Regions from separate parts of the Homo sapiens genome. Here regions 2 and 3 are each linked to region 1. The links are contacts of gene promoters, found by promoter capture Hi-C in blood cells and fetal thymus (Javierre and others, 2016). All regions are on one chromosome and are shown on one strand. Each heading gives the region's core, a stretch centred on a gene start or on the middle of the fragment in contact. The rest is flanking DNA. Distances are from core to core; before and after follow the strand shown. Region 1 holds the start of PITPNM2 (phosphatidylinositol transfer protein membrane associated 2). Region 2 overlaps PITPNM2 (phosphatidylinositol transfer protein membrane associated 2). Region 3 overlaps PITPNM2 (phosphatidylinositol transfer protein membrane associated 2).

The links. Contacts are between HindIII fragments. The CHiCAGO score rates a contact against its expected background, and 5 or more counts as called.
Region 2: a contact is called between a fragment that was not itself captured here and the fragment with the promoter of PITPNM2 in region 1, in 7 of 17 cell types (megakaryocytes, fetal thymus, endothelial precursors and 4 more). The highest score is 12.9, in megakaryocytes.
Region 3: a contact is called between a fragment that was not itself captured here and the fragment with the promoter of PITPNM2 in region 1, in 3 of 17 cell types (fetal thymus, endothelial precursors and megakaryocytes). The highest score is 7.0, in fetal thymus.

The regions. Positions count from the first base shown.
Region 1 is chr12:123,149,568-123,152,769 of GRCh38, forward strand. It overlaps PITPNM2 (phosphatidylinositol transfer protein membrane associated 2), which reads right to left and starts at 1,523. Exons shown (of 26, transcript NM_020845.3): 1 at 1,186-1,523. It also overlaps a transcript of MPHOSPH9 not described here. RefSeq lists silencers at 1,077-1,166, 1,267-1,406, 1,427-1,686, 1,707-1,906. The HindIII fragment of the contact is 4,737 bases long and covers 1-3,202 here.
Region 2 is chr12:123,035,135-123,038,336 of GRCh38, forward strand. The region is part of intron 2 of PITPNM2 (phosphatidylinositol transfer protein membrane associated 2); the gene reads right to left. Among named protein-coding and RNA genes, the nearest start is that of MIR4304, 26 kb to the left of the region's middle. The HindIII fragment of the contact is 1,602 bases long and covers 629-2,230 here.
Region 3 is chr12:123,056,362-123,059,563 of GRCh38, forward strand. The region is part of intron 2 of PITPNM2 (phosphatidylinositol transfer protein membrane associated 2); the gene reads right to left. Among named protein-coding and RNA genes, the nearest start is that of PITPNM2-AS1, 23 kb to the right of the region's middle. RefSeq lists an enhancer at 2,133-2,634. The HindIII fragment of the contact is 3,331 bases long and covers 1-3,187 here.

The sequences.
Region 1 (3,202 bases), core at 273-2,772:
GGGCAGGAGACCAGAGATGAATCAACTCCAGCCCGGGAGCTCACCGTCCAGCAGGGGAGATAAGGCAGATGGAAAAGTAACTATAAAATAAGGCAGACGGTGATAAGAGTTACACAGGAGATACAGATAGCAGGCAGTGGGAGTTCAGAGCAGAGAGGAGTCTGGGGGATGGATGTTAGGGGAGATTCAGATGAAGGGGAGCACTTACTGCCTTCCCTCCAGAAGTGGGGGGTCTATCCTAGCAGCTCTGGTCACTCCCAGGTGGAGGCCGGGGAGAGAGCTGGTTGTGGACAAAGACAGATGTTCCAGTGAGGTCTCCTTTGAAGAATCCCGACTCTGGGTGGGGGAGGCAGGTAGGCCGGGGTGTTTGGAGAGGCACCCAGCCCACACTTCAGTGGGAGGGAGAGGAGTGCAGGATGTCTCTGCAGGAGCAAGTCGGTGGAAAGGGGACAAGCCTGGAGGACTTGCCTTGAAATGACATTTGCACCGCGCGCACTATGTTCACCTGGAGTGGCCGTTTGGGATTTCTTGCGGGGAGGCAGTGCACACTGGGGCGGGGGACACTGAACTTTCCCTCTCCCCAAGGCCCCCCGATCAGCCCTGCCACGGATAAGAAAGGATTCGGGGTGGGAAGAAGACAGAGCCGGCACCCCATTACCACACGAAGGGGGCACTGAGGATGGAGACGGGCCACACCCCAACCCTGGGCCCCCGACAAGCAGAGGCCACGGCCCGGGCCTGGGGACGTTCAGCTGGAGGCGGGAAGCAGAGAAGGCGGGCCGGGGGCTCACCTCCGCTTCCTCCCGATAGCCCCTTCCTCGCCCTGGCACCGGCACTGCCCACGCCTGCCCCCCGACCGCTATGACACTTGTCCCTGGCGGGGGTCCCCCACGCGGTCGCGACCGACGGAAATTCGGAAATCAGCGTTTCGGGCACGGATCCAGGGCCGGCGACTCACTGAGGCCAGGCTCGGGCGGTCTCCCGAGCGGGGCTCCCGTACGCCACACCCTCCTCCCTGCCCGGGTCTCCGCTCCCTCCTCCAGCCCCCGGCGGGCTGGAGGCTCGGCGGGCGGGCGGGCCGGGGCCTCTCTGGGAGCCGCCGCCCAGATCCCCAGGTCCCCGGCCAGCGCCCGGCACTGCGGGACTCACCGCGGGCCTGCGGAGCGGCCGCCCGGACGCACTCACCCCGCTCGGCGCGGCCGCGGGCTCTGTCCTCTTCGGGGCCCCGGCTGGGCCGCCGCCACCTCACGCCGCCTCACGGGGAGCGCCCGCCCCGCGGCCCCGGCCCGGCCGGCTGCGCCCCGCGCGCCCCCGCCGCCTGCTGGCCCCGGGCGAGCGGCAGAGCCCCGGCGGGCATTGCTCCCGAGCGTCGCAGGCGGGCGGCGGCGGCGCACGTGCTGGCGGGCGGCTCTCGCTGAGGCGGCCGCGAGCTGAGAAGGAAGCGCCGGGCGGGCGGCCGGGGCCGGCTGGACAGCTCTACGCCGCGGCGCCGCGGTGCCCCGCGCACCCCAGCGGCCGCTGCTGCCCGCGCGCGCCGGGCCGGGCTCGCATTCCCTCAGTGGCGGCGGCGCCTCCTCAGGCCGCGCGGGGGAGCGGCGGCGGCGGCGGCGGGGGCGCGTCCCTGCGGAGTCTCGGCCCGGCCCCGCCGCCTCCGCCGGAAGAAACCTCTCCGACTCGGGCAGCCCGCCTGGTTCCTCAGACCTGCCGCGGCGACCCCGCTCCTCCCCGGCTCGCCCGTGTCCTCAGGGCCCGGGACTGGACTCGGGGGCGGCGGCGCGGATCCCCGCCCCGGGCTCCTCGCCCACCGTCCGCAGCAGCCGAGCGCACTCGGGGGCGGGAACCGGCCGACTTGCGGCCACTGTGACTCTTAAAACAGCCTCATTTTAAAAAATGAAGTTTCTTAGGAGCGAAATGGTAAACCAGGGAGGGCAGAGCGCAGCGGGCAGCTCACCGAAGCCCAGCCCCGGGCGCGGTGCTCGCCACACGGTGGGTCCGCGCTCTCCCCTCAGGACGCCCGGGCCGCGGCCCAGGGAACGGCAGAGCCGGGAGCGCAGCCGTCCCGGTCCCCACCTCAGGGAGTAGCTGGAAGAGGATCACGAACAGTTTAATCCGGATGATCTGGCACGACAGGGCTCTCCAATGGGAAGAGCCCCCGGTGGGGGAGCGCCTGGTGACATTCCTTAAAAACATGAGGTGTTTGTTAGGTTGAGCCAGGGTGGACTTGTTTGGCAAAATCTGAAGTCATGGAACTAAAGAGAGCACACCTAAAACTTAGTGATGTGTGACCCATCCCTACTTGTCACCTTATAAGGCTGAGGAGACGGCGGTGCTCCCCTGGAGGAGAGAGGACAAGCTAAAATTAAGGCGGCCTAGATGACTCCAGATGAAGCCGGGGAGGCCGAGCCCCTGACAGCTGCTCACCTCCTGGGGTCACGGCAGAACCCAACTGAACGGGCCAGGAAGGCCATCGTTCCCGACTCGCCTCCAGGTGCCCCTGACCATGACCACGCAGAGGAGGACCAAGGCGTACCACCATCACCTAGAACGCTTCAGCTCCTTCCCTCCACCAAGAGGTGCCCTAGGATCCATCCAGAAAGATCTGCGGAGCCCACAGAGTCCCAACGGGAACTGTGCTCCTGGATGGACGCCCCTTAACCCATAACTCAAGGACTTCTCTATGCCTGGGACTTAAAATCACCAACAACCCGCTCCTGCAGCCAGCTAGCAGAAATAAACACACAAAGGCCACACGCCAGTTCACAGCCACAAGTATTTATTGAGTGCCTGTAGTGCAAGAAAGAGAGATGGTCCCTGCTCCCGCGGAGCTTACAGCTTCACGACTCCAGCATCTGGCTAGATTCAGAAACAACTGCAGCAAGCACTTGTCTACCCACCAGCAGCACTGTAAAAAGCACATTTCTCACATTATCGGTCACTGTTACAGTGAAATTGTTAGATGTAAAAATTATCCTTGAAATCTGTAGTCATAGAGATGACATGGTACATAATGTCCAGCAAATGCACATTTATGGCTTGATTCCTCACATATCTGAGGGGTCTATGGAAATAAAGTACAAATCAGGCAGAAAAGACTTAGTAACACAGTTCCTAAGAATACTGGGGTAGTAGTTTATTATCAAACTACCATAGAGCTCTTGGCAGGGCAGGAAATTATTTCCAGCAAAATTTGTGCAATATAGTG
Region 2 (3,202 bases), core at 180-2,679, 110 kb before region 1:
CATGCCATTAGGGGCAGATGACATCACTACATCCCAAGGGGGAGACTCTGAGTGATTTAACGTTTGGTTTCAGTTCAATCCAATAAGAAACATTTATTGGCATCTATTTTATTCCTTCCATTGGGCTATGTCTGGGAAGTAGATGAGACAAGATAAGCAGAGAGTGTGCTCATAGCCACCTCTATTTAAGTGACAAAGAATATATTTGATGAAGATTTGTCCCTAAGCAATCACATTTTTTTTTAACTGGGCCGGGCACAGTGGCTCACACTTGTAATCCCAGCACTTTGGGAGGCCAAGGTAGGCAGATCACTTGAGGTTCGGCGTTCAAGACCAGACTGGCCAACATGGTGAAACCCCGTCTCTACTAAAAACACAAAAATTAGCCGCAGGTGGTGGCAGGAGCCTGTGGTCCCAACTACTTGGGAGGCTGAGGCAGGAGAATCGCTTGAACCCAGGAGGCGGAGGTTGCAGTGAGCTGAGATCGCGCCATTGCACTCCAGCCTGGGGGACAAGAGTGAAACTCCGTCTCAAAAAAAAAAACAAAAACTTGGTGCTTGGAAGAGGCGCATACTCAGTTATCCGGAAAATGAAATCACCCCTTAAAACCCAAGCCCCAGATGGCTGAAGCTTTGCCATAAATATCATTTGGTCACCTCCAAAGGTCACATGCTGTTAACATGAAGCCAAGTGAAGGTTTTCAGGATGGATGATAAATAAATTTTACATTTATTTATTGTTTAGAGACAAGGTCTCACTCTGCACCCAGGCTAGAGTGCAGTGGTGCAATCCCAGCTCACTGCAGCCTTGATCTCCTGGGCTCAAGCTATCCTTCTGCCTCAGCCTCCAGAGTAGCTGGGACTACAGATGCACGCCACCCACACCCGGCTAACGGTAGTATTTTAGCAAGACTACTCCAAGGACAGCAGCCAGGGAGGATTCACAGTGACCATGGGCAGGACTCCTGCTAAGTGATAAAAGCAAGGGCCTGGCCAGTCAGGCAACTTCCCCAGGGCACGGCTCTCTATCGGGCATTGGAGTATCACCCAGGTGCTAAAGCATTACTGGGTAGCTAACAAGGTTGAGAAAAACATTTATCAGAACTCTCAGGAATACCAGTAGACAGGGTTAAAAGAAGTTCTTAAATAAGCCACTTAGGGAGAAAGACAGAGAGAGGAAAGGTCTGATAAAGGGGCTCCATCCCTTGTGCTAGCCTAAAACAGCGGCTCCCAGTTGTTTAGTTCACAGCAGGTAGGAACGTCAGCCCGAAGCCCATTCAAATTCTCACATCCATCCTGGCATTATGGGATGCCAAGGCAGGTGGACTGCTTGAGGTCAAGCAAGCTCAAGACCAGCCTGGGAAACATAGCAAGACCCTCCTCTCTATTAAAAAAGAACCCAATTCTCACATCCAGTTGCTTTAAATATAGTCCAAGTGAAGCTCTTTTTTAGCCGATTAGAGCCTAGATACTTTATATACCCCAGAAACTGCACCCAACATCTGCTGGCTGTAGATAAGATAACCCTGGATCCCAGACCCCAACTGCCCCTTGGAGGTCTCTGACCCAGACTCCCCATGGTGCTGCTGAGCAGCATCACCTGGACACAGAAATCCCCTCTAGCTCCCCTCTCTCTGGGAAGTTTCCTTGCCCTGTTCCCCTCCTTGGGGTGGCCCCAGGCCCTGCTATATCCATAAGGACTCTTGCTAGGAGGGGCTTCCCCTCTCCTGCGACCTGTCCACCAGCCTTTCTGATCCCTGATCAACCCCAAAGCTCCCCAGAGGCTGTGCTCAAGTGAAAAAAGACCATTGCTGACCTTCTTCAAGGTCAATGGGTCTAGCTAACAGCCCATGGGACCTGCAAGTTTAGGGCCTGAGGCCCTGTGGAGTTCTTCCCCATACTCCCAGACTCAGCTCCGCCTAGGCCCACATGTCTATTCTCACACCTGGCTGGAAGCTGAGGACACAGGAGAGAGAAGCAATGGCCCTACAGTCCCCAGGCTGCACCTTATCCTGTGAGGTGTGAAACAAGAGCTGGCTGGGCCGAAGTAGCAAGGGACCCAAGTCTGACACCTGGATGGACTTCCAGCTGGCTGGGAGGGTAGCACAGGCACCTGATCTGAGAAACTTACATACATAAAGGAGAGAGAGCTTTATGTTTGAGGGAAGTTGGAGGAAATTAGGGTTGGAGACGGGAAGGGAAAATTGAAGTTCAATGGGGGTTGTTTCTGAAGCTTCTTCACGTGGTTCTTCATTGAAGCCCCAGCATCGCCCAACTAGGAAGGCACAGCAGGTGCTTGGTGTGAAGCAGTACACCTGTGTGACGTGCAGCACCCACTCCGCCTCTGTGGGGCCTCAGGTGGGCTCCTTTACTGTGGGGCAAATGCAGTGACCCAGAGTGGGCAAGTCTCATTTAGTCATCTAAATAACATGGTCAGACACAGACTCTAAATGTTCTTCAGAAACCTTACGAGTCTAAGCATTCTGCCCTTTGGGAGTCTTAACCCCTCCAGCGTACATGACCTGCCCTGCTCATCCCCATGCAAATCAGTCCTTTCTCAATCCTCTCAGATTCCAGGCTCACCAGGCACTAGCAAGGTAGGACCCCCTGAGCCAGATTCATAATGTTCCTTAAATGTCTCCATCACCTCAAATAACAACCAGGGGTGAAATCTCGCAGCCTGAGCCAGCACCCAGACACTGGCTTGGGTCTCTGATTTCAAAGGCTCTGTGAGCACATGTCTGGAACAGATACCTAATGATGTTCCCCCACGGACAAGCTGTCAGGTGAGCTGTTAATTGCACAGGTGCTGTCCACAGCTCCGCTGGGATATTTTTGCGTGCAGGCAGAGGGACAGAGACAGAGAGGGAACACACACCTGGAGGGCCCAGAGGCCCCTTGGAGGCTCCTGGCACCTGGGTGGAGTGGGGCAAAGCTTAGGACCGTGCAAGGGCAGCAGCCACATGGTGGAAGAGCATCAGAAAGTGCAAGTGCTCAGGATGCAATTCCATCAAGGCTGGCTTAGGGAAAAGCAACCGTGTTTCTGCCCACAAGGAACTAAAGAGCTGTAGAGGTAAGTAAGTAGGTACATACATGGATAGGAAGAAGGAAAAAACAAATAAATCGTTCTATATCTTACAGTTAAATGCACGGGTGACTAATAGGAGAGAGGACTCAGAACTCTAAGAGTGACACAGAATGTG
Region 3 (3,202 bases), core at 272-2,771, 93 kb before region 1:
TCATGTCCACGTTGCCCGGGAGACAAAATCCTTTTCTATTTAGAGCTGCCCCAAAATGTTCTGCACCAGCTTCTCACTGCGGTGGCTTCACCTTAGCATACAGGTATGTGGACGGCCACTGTGCTGGCTCACCTTGGACACTGCCTTCATGGGCCTGGGTCAGGTTCTCAGTCAGCAGCTCTTGCCAACTCCAGGAGGCCCAGACCCAGGAGTGGCCTCCTGCTGCCGGACACGAAGAGGGAAAGAGCTGAGCTGCCCGGCCCTCTTCTTCTAACAAGCCCTCCTGGGTTGACAAAGAAAGTCTCTCCCTGCACTGGGTGACACTGGACACTGTCCCTGTCCTCTCCCGGGATGCCCCAGGCCAGGGGCTGGGATAGCCTCAGGGCCTGGCTCTCTCCATACCCAGCCCAATCAGGGGTCCTGTGCCCAAGATCCTATCAAGATGGGTGCTAAGAATCACAGAGAATGGGGACAACCTGCAGGTCCCTGCAGGACTTTGCAGACCCAGGAGGTGGCAGTTCACTGAGGTCTAGCCCCTGGCCTTGAATGGGAACCAAGCAGGTGTGAACTGGGAGTAGAGGCCACCGATCTGCTGCTCAGCCTTGGACAAGTCAGAGTACTCAGAAGCCTCGGATCCCAAATGTGAAAGAGAAAAGCGCGTCTGAGTGTGTGTGAGAATTCCTTCCTAACCGGGGAGCATATCTTCAGGGCAACTTCAGGTTAAAAATCTAAATTCAGGCCAGGCGTGGTGGTTCACGCCTGCAATCCCAGCACTTTGAGAGGCCGAGGCGGGTGGATCACCTGAGGTTGGGAGTTCAAGACCAGCCTGACCAACACGGAGAAACCCCGTCTCTACTAAAAATACAAAATTAGCTAGGCATGGTGGCACATGCCTGTAATCCCAACTACTCGGGAGGCTGAGGCAGGAGAATCGCTTGAACCCGGGAGGCAGAAGTTGCGGTGAGCCGAGATCACACCATTGCACTCCAGCCTGGGCAACAAGAGCAAAACTCTATCTCAAAAAAAAAAAAAAAAAAATTTAAATTCAAAAACAAACAAAAAGAACTTCTTCCTAACAGGAACATTCAGAAGAACTAAGGAAAGAATGTCTCTGAGGGTGCAAATGGTACCATTGGTCTCCTCACCCTACAAGTATTTACAAAGTGCCGTAGACAAGACCGCATCTGAAATCAGAGCTGGGCGGGAGGCAGGACCTGTGGTTTCTAAGTGCTCTCTCCACTTCCCCAGGCAATGGGCCTATGGACACCAAAGCTGGGGCGCCCGGCCAGAACCTGAAGCCCCAGGGCACATAGAGGCTGTAGGCTCTGGTGGTGACGGTTCATCTGAGTTACAAGCGGCTGAGCCTCCTGGGCTCCCCACCGCGACGCCCACCCCTAGTTGAGGAACAAGCCCTAGGAGGCTATGGGAAAGAAGGAGGGGGAAAGCAGAGCCATCTGGCTTGTCCTGAATTATTAACCACAGAGGAGGAGGTACAGCTAAGGCCCTGGGGGAATCAGGTGCAGCTGCTCTCAGAGTTGGAGAGGGGAACTGGAACCCTTTTGCAGATCCAAGGGATCCAGAGGTTGGAATGTGACCCTCCGTGCCAGCTGGGCCCCAAGTCCCAGGGACCCCTCCTGTACACCTGACAGGTGCTACCTCCTCTCTGGGCCACTAGGCAGCAAAAAACAAACTATGCCTTCATCCCCTGACCTTTTACTCTTCAAAGTACTTACGAACCCACGTTCTTCACTTCTTCTTTTTGGGCATTTTGTCGGAAGGATAAACCAAGGCCAGGTGAGATCAGACAATTCAGCCAAGGTTGTAGGGCTGCCAGGGAGGTGGTCAGGGTGTATACCAGGTCTCCGTCTCCAATGCCACCATGGGGTCCCCTCCCCAAGAATTCCAAGTCACCCATGGCTGAGCCATGGGAAGAACACCTGCTATGTCTCCCTCTAATTTGCCTTCTGCCTCCATCCCTTTTGATTCTGGCCCTCACCAGCACTCCCTGGGTGTCAGAGACAGCCTTCTAATTGGCCTCTATGTTTCCAGTTTGGTTCCTCTGAAATCCTCCTTCTAGAAACCATTAGAGGACATCTTCCCAATGCAGATGCAACCATGTTTGCCAGCTCCCCAGAATGTCACTGGAAGCCATCATGCCCCACCCACAGCCTCTCCAGGGCCTCTCTCACTCCACCATTCACCTGCTGTTCCCTGCTGTCATTCTTGTTGTTCCCTGTTTGCGGTCCTCAGCTCCAAAGCCCTCAAGAGCAGCACCTGCCTCTTACACCTCGGCCCCAAGCACTGCAGAAGCTGGTAACTGTTGCCTGAGGCATTTGCTCAAGGCCCCAAGCGCTGTAGAAGCTGGTAACTGTTGCCTGAGGCATTTGCTCAAGTGCTCAACCCCTGCTGGTTCTTTTGTGGAAAAAGCCCTTTCCCACGGGGTCCACCTGGAAAATTCTCGAAGTGTCTATTAAGAATCAGCTTACACAGCACTCACTCTGAGAAGCCCTCCGAGACTACTCTGGGCAAAGCTGAGTGCCCAGGTGCATTGAGAGCACCTCAGCCCCAGCTCCCACCACACCCCATTCCCATTGTCTGGGCCCAAACCATGAAGCTCAGGGCAGCACCCGCATCTGCTTCATTTCTGCATCTTCAGGGCCAAGCCCACAGCGAGGTGCTCTACAGATCTCCATAAGTACTTAGGAGAGGCACAGCTGTGGGGGCAGAGGTCAGCATCTAGGCAGGGAGAGAACCAGGCAGGGAGAAGGCCAACCAAGGATATCACAGGCTGAAGAGCCCATGTGTTTCCAGTCAGAGAGGAGGAGCTCACAAGCATGGGACCTTTTCTGGGGGCTCTTCCAAGGGCCATCTGGAGAGCAGTGAGTCAACCAGCCACCTCCTGTGTGGCTCAGCCCCTGCCCCTTTCCGTAGCAGCACTGAGCTACATAGCCTGAATTTGGTAAAAGGTCTCGGATGTGGGGCAGAGGGCCCAGAGAAGGTCAGGGAGGAACTGCCTGGGAAGCCAGATGCCCACAAGGCTCTGTGACTTCACTTCCAGGGTTCGGTCTGTACTCTCTGCAGTCAGGAGTACTGTCCCAGCTTTACCACCTTCTGGCCCTTTAGCACCTGGCCATACACACCCACTAATGCCCCCAGAAGGGTGGAGGCCCACTTCTCCCCCAGAACAAGCTTGACTGATTTG